Linked DNA regions of Homo sapiens: region 1 is linked to region 2. Evidence: promoter capture Hi-C in human tissues and cell types (Jung and others, 2019). All regions are on one chromosome and are shown on one strand. The core of a region is centred on a gene start or on the middle of the fragment in contact, and the rest is flanking DNA. Distances in the headings are between cores, read along the strand shown. Region 1 overlaps CPT1C (carnitine palmitoyltransferase 1C). Region 2 holds the start of TSKS (testis specific serine kinase substrate).

Region 1 (2,700 bases), core at 28-2,527, 59 kb before region 2:
CTGCCTCAGCCTCCCATACCTGGCTAATTTCTTTTTTTTTTTTTTTGTATTTTTGTATTTTTAGTAGAGATGGGGTTTCACCGTGTTAGCCAGGATGGTCTCGACCTCCTGACCTCGTGATCCGCCTGCCTCGGCCTCCCAAAGTGTTGGGATTTACAGGCGTGAGCCACCATGCCCGGCCTCTTTCTTTCTTTCTTTCTCTATCTTTCTCTCTCTCCCCCTCCCTCCCTTTCTGTCTCTCTCTCCTCCCTCCCTCCCTCCCTCCCTCCCTCCCTCCCTTCCTTCCTTCCTTCCTTCCTTCTCTCTTTCTCTCTCTTTCCTTTTTCTTTCTTGGAAGGGGTCTCACTCTGTCACCCAGGCTGTAGTGCAGTGGCGTGATCAAAGCTCACTGCAGCCTTGACCTCCCAGACTCAAGCCATCCTCCCATCTCAGCCTCCTGAGTAGCTGGGACTACAGGCATGTGCCCCTAAGCCTGGCTAATTTTTAAATTTTTTGTAGACATGGGGTCTTGCTATGTTGCACAGACTGGTCTCAAACTCCGAGGCTCAAGCTATCCTCCCACCTCAGCCTCCCAAAATGCTGAGATAAGAGGTGTGAGCCACTGCGCCCAGCCTGTATATTTTATTGTACCTCCAAGCCAACTGCCAGTGACACACGCACCATTTTTTTATGTACAACAACAACAACAAAAAACCCTACAAGAGCAGCTAAACCGTGACACAGTGCTTTCTTTTGTGTTTTTCATTGTTTGAATTTTATCATGGTATTGGCAAGGCCACAATTTTCATGTATTTACACATATGTATATTATTTCACATATTTATTGTTTTATAAATTTTACATTTATGTTCTGTTTTTCTTTTTTGGGGGGGACGGAGTTTCACTCTTGTTGCCCAGGCTGGAGTGCAATGGTGCGATCTCAGCTCCTTGCAACCTCTGCCTCCCCGACTCAAGCGATTCTCCTGCCTCAGGCTACCGAGTAGCCGGGATTACAGGCGTGCACCACCACGTGTGGCTAATGTTTGTATTTTTAGTAGAGACAGGGTTTCATCATGTTGGCCAGGCTGGTCTTGAACACCTGACCTCAGGTGATCCACCCGCTTAGCCTCCCAAAGTGCTGGGATTACAGGCGGGAGCCACCGTGCCCAGCTGTACCTTGTTATTTCCACCAGCTATGTAATATTCCACTGCCGGAGTATAACAGGGTTTAGCTAACTGATCCCCCATGGATGGATTTCTAGGTGATCGCTAGTTACTGACTACGATGGCTGACTTCTTTGGCTCTATCCTCCCTGCCTGACGCAGGAGCATCTGGGGCCTTCCCTGTCCTACTGTCCCTCCCCCAACAGGCCCCAGCCCCTCACTGTGTGTCTCCCCACCCCGCTCCCAGGTCAGTGACTGGTGGGAGGAATTTGTGTACCTGCGCTCCCGAAATCCGCTGATGGTGAACAGCAACTATTACATGATGGTGAGAAGGGGAGGGGTGAGGTTCATAGGCCCCAGGTCTAGGGTTGGGGGGTACCTGGGCGGAATGTGACGGTCATGCTCAGTGACCTGGATCTAGACGCGCCATCTGGGATTCATCATTCCACCCTCTTTTGGGGTCAGGACCTGTATTTGGGTCAGTGGCTCCATCGGGGGCAAACCTGACCCTGGGTGTTTTGCCATCCCCTCTCCTGGTCCCCAGGACTTCCTGTATGTCACACCCACGCCTCTGCAGGCAGCTCGCGCTGGGAATGCCGTCCATGCCCTCCTCCTGTACCGCCACCGCCTGAACCGCCAGGAGATACCCCCGGTGAGAGGGCCCCAGTGGGTTAGGGATGGAGGTGTGGTCCTGTGGCCTTTGGGCCACGTGGGTCCTGGAAGGCAGCTCACAGCCCACGGTTTCCTGCAGACTTTGCTGATGGGAATGCGCCCCTTATGCTCTGCCCAGTACGAGAAGATCTTCAACACCACGCGGATTCCAGGGGTCCAAAAAGGTGAGACCCTCTCCTGTCCCCACTGATGGAGGCAGAACAATATAGTGGCTAAGAGCATGTTTTCTGGAGTCCGCCTGACTGAGCTGGGAACCATTGCTTCCTTGCTGTGTGACCTTCTGCACGTTATTACCCTCTCTGAGCCTCAGCTTCCACTAAAGTGGGATAATAATTGTACCTAGGGGCTGGGCGCAGTGACTGATGCCTGTAATCCCAGCACTTTGTGGGGCCGAGGTGGACAATTGCTTAGGCCAGGAGTTCGAGACCAGCCTAGGGCAACGTAGTGAGATCCGGTCTATATACAAAATTTAAAAATTAGCCAGGCATGGTGATATGCACCTGTGGCCCCAGTTAATCGGGAGCCTGAAGTGGAAGGATCACCTGAGCCCCGGAGGTTGAGGCTGCAGTGAGCTGAGATCTCACCACTGCACTCCAGCCTGGCGACAGAGCGAGACCTTGTCTCCAAATACTAAGTAAATAAAAGTCCTAGGGTGCTGATGATTACTAGGGTACTTTGAACAACTGACGACACCTAAGAAGTATATAATAAATGGTCACTATTTTTATGTGTCTGGCCTTCCTGCCCCCATGCTTCTGCCAACGCCACCCCTAGACTACATCCGCCACCTCCATGACAGCCAACACGTGGCTGTCTTCCACCGGGGCCGATTCTTCCGCATGGGGACCCACTCCCGAAACAGCCTGCTTTCCCCGAGAGCCCTGG
Region 2 (2,700 bases), core at 1-2,500:
GCAGGGGGCCCAGCCAGTGTGAGTTGGCCGCTGAGGTCTTCCACTGTGGAGTCTGTCCCCGTGGAGTCAGTGGGCTCCATGGCGGCCAGGTTGAGCAGTGACACGTTGGTGCAGGCCGAGGACCGTTTGAGGTTCAGGCACCAGTGCATGGGCTGATGGGACATCTGGGGCTCCACCCTGCAGAGAAGAAACAGGCAGAAAAGTGGAGAAGCAGCCCCAGGGTGTCTGGGCCCTCCTGCCTTCCTTTCTCCATACCTCACCCCCTGTGACTCCACCCTCACTGTATATAAGTTTCTCCCTTCTCTGTCCCCGCTGCCTACTTTATTCTCCTTCCCTGTGCTGCCTACTTTCTTTCTTTTTTCTTTCTTTCTTTTTTTTTTTTTTTTGAGACAGAGTCTCACTCTGTTGCCCAGGCTGGAGTGCAGTGGCGCGATCTCAGCTCACTGCAACCTCCGACTGCGGGTCCCAGTTCAAGCAATTCTCCTGCCTCAGCCTCCTGAGTAGCTGGGGTTATAGGCATGTGCCATCACGCCCAGCTAATTTTAGTATTTTTAGTAGAGATGGCTTTTCACCATGTTGGCCAAGCTGGTTTTGAACTCCTGACCTCATGATCCACCTGCCTCGGCCTCCCAAAGTGCTGGGATTACAGGCGTGAGCCACCGTGCCCGACCACCACTGTCTACTTTCTTCTTCTCCTTCCCCGCTGCCTACTTTCTCCTCCCTTCTCTGCCACCTACTTTCTTCTTCATTCACTAGCCTCCCTTCTCCTTCTTCCCTCCCCACTGGCTTTTTCCTCTCTCCATCCATCCCCATTACCTTCTTCCTCCCTCCATCCATCCCCATTACCTTCTTCCTCTCTACCTCCCTGTGACTTGATGTCTCTTCACTGCTGCCCTCTTTCCTGCCCCCGACCTGCTGGCTTTTCCCCCTCCCCTTCCTCTAGCACCCACAGTCGGACTCCTGCTCTGTTGGAGGTAGTGCTGGGCATTAGAACCATCCCTGACAGTGTGCAACAAACCCACCCGTGGAACGACACGGCCTTCTTTTTCTTCGGGATCCCCTTGGCCCGGCTGGTCACCCTCCGGGGAGCCTCTGGGACTAGCTGGGAGCAGCTCTCCACCCCCGTGGGGGTGTCCCCGGCCTCATGGATCTCTTTGGACTGCCAGATCGTCTTCACCACCACGCTCGCCATGGTGTGGGGGTCTGGCTCCCAGGGAGGGGCTCCTTCCTCTGAGACTTCCTACCTACTGTGACCACAGACCCTCAGGATCCACTGTCCCCTCAGCCTGCCTCACAAAGGACCCAACCACTGGGCCCCAGTGAGTGGGGGGCACAGGGTAGGGAGAGATGCTGGCCCAGGTCATTCCCCTAGGGTTCTCAGTGGACTCCTCCTGTTCAGGATTCTAGTTACATGCCCAATGTGCCCCCCGTCTTCAGAGCTCCAGTGGATGGATTCATGCTAGCCTGTAACTTAACAATGGGTCGGCCCACGGATTCTTGGGAGAGGTCCAACTTCCCTCTCCCTGAGACTAAGCGTGGGGTCACACAGCCCTGTGCACTTGTTCTTGATTCTTCATGTAGCTTCCTGGATTTGACAATTGGCTGGGGTTTGAGAGACTGTGGTCGAAGAGGGCTGAGATCCAGACCCTGACCTGGAGGGTCTCATATTCTATGGGGCGTCGGGGTCGGGGGAAAGGCAATATACAGGTAGATCAACAAAAGAAAGCTAGGTGCGGTGGGCCTCGGGGTCAGGGTAGAAGGTGAGGGAGGAGAGGAAGGTAGAGAGTTGGGGCAGGACAGAGGGTGGTATCCCCCTCCCCCGTTTATTTATTTATTATTTTCTTTAATACTTTTTATTTTTTTTGAGACAGAGTCTCTCTCTGTCATGGAGGCTGGAGTTCAGTGGCGCGATCTCAGCTCATTGCAACCTCCACCTCCCGGGGTTCAACCGATTCTCCTGCCTCAGCCTCCCCAGTAGCTGGGACTACAGGCGCTGGCCACAATGTCCGGCTAATTTTTGTATTTTTAGTAGAGACGGGTTTCACCATGTTGGCCAAGTTGGTCTCAAACTCCCGACCTCAAATGGTCCACCCGCCTTAGCCTCCCAAAGTGTGGGATTACAGACATGAGCCACCATGCTCCGCTATAATTTTTTTTTTTTTTTTTTAGATGGAGTCTCGCTCTGACACCCAGGCTGGAGTGCAGTGGCGTGATCTTGGCTCATTGCAACCTCTACCTCCCAGTTTCAAGCGATTCTCCTGCCTCAGCCTCCTGAGTAGCTGGGACTACAGGTACCTGCCACCACACCCATCTAATTTTTTTTTTGTATTTTTAGTAGAGACAGGGTTTCACTGTGTTGGCTAGGCTAGTCTCCAACTCCTGACCTCGTGATCTGCCCACTTCAGCCTCCCAAAGCATTGGAATTACAGGTGTGAGCCACTGCGCCCCGCCCGCCCAAAGTATTTAAAAAATATATGGAACATGTCACAAATTTGCATGTGGTCTTTGCGCAGGGCCCATGCTAATCTTCTCTGTATCGTTCCAATGTTAATACATGTGCTGTCGAAGCGAGCACTGCCCTGCTATTTAGGGACAGACTTTTCCTGTTCTCTTCACACTTCTCAAAAAGACTAGTTCAAACATCACTGCTAATAGACATTTTAAATGCTGTTATCCCCAGGGAGAAAGTACTTCTTCCTG

What was found. The method cuts DNA at HindIII sites, captures the fragments that hold promoters and counts their contacts. A contact is called where the count stands out against the background at its distance.
Region 1: a fragment that was not itself captured here is called in contact with the fragment with the promoter of TSKS in region 2 in 1 of the 25 tissues and cell types used here (pancreas).

Annotation. Positions count from the first base shown.
Region 1 is chr19:49,703,320-49,706,019 of GRCh38, forward strand. It overlaps CPT1C (carnitine palmitoyltransferase 1C), which reads left to right. Exons shown (of 20, transcript NM_001199753.2): 8 at 1,391-1,468; 9 at 1,688-1,795; 10 at 1,895-1,979; 11 at 2,590-2,700. Among named protein-coding and RNA genes, the nearest start is that of CPT1C, 14 kb to the left of the region's middle. The HindIII fragment of the contact is 9,065 bases long and covers 1-2,700 here.
Region 2 is chr19:49,762,056-49,764,755 of GRCh38, forward strand. TSKS (testis specific serine kinase substrate) reads right to left here and starts at 1,251. Exons shown (of 11, transcript NM_021733.2): 1 at 1,023-1,251; 2 at 1-177. The coding sequence starts at 1,192. It also overlaps the pseudogene RNU6-841P. RefSeq lists an enhancer at 1-4. The HindIII fragment of the contact is 39,317 bases long and covers 1-2,700 here.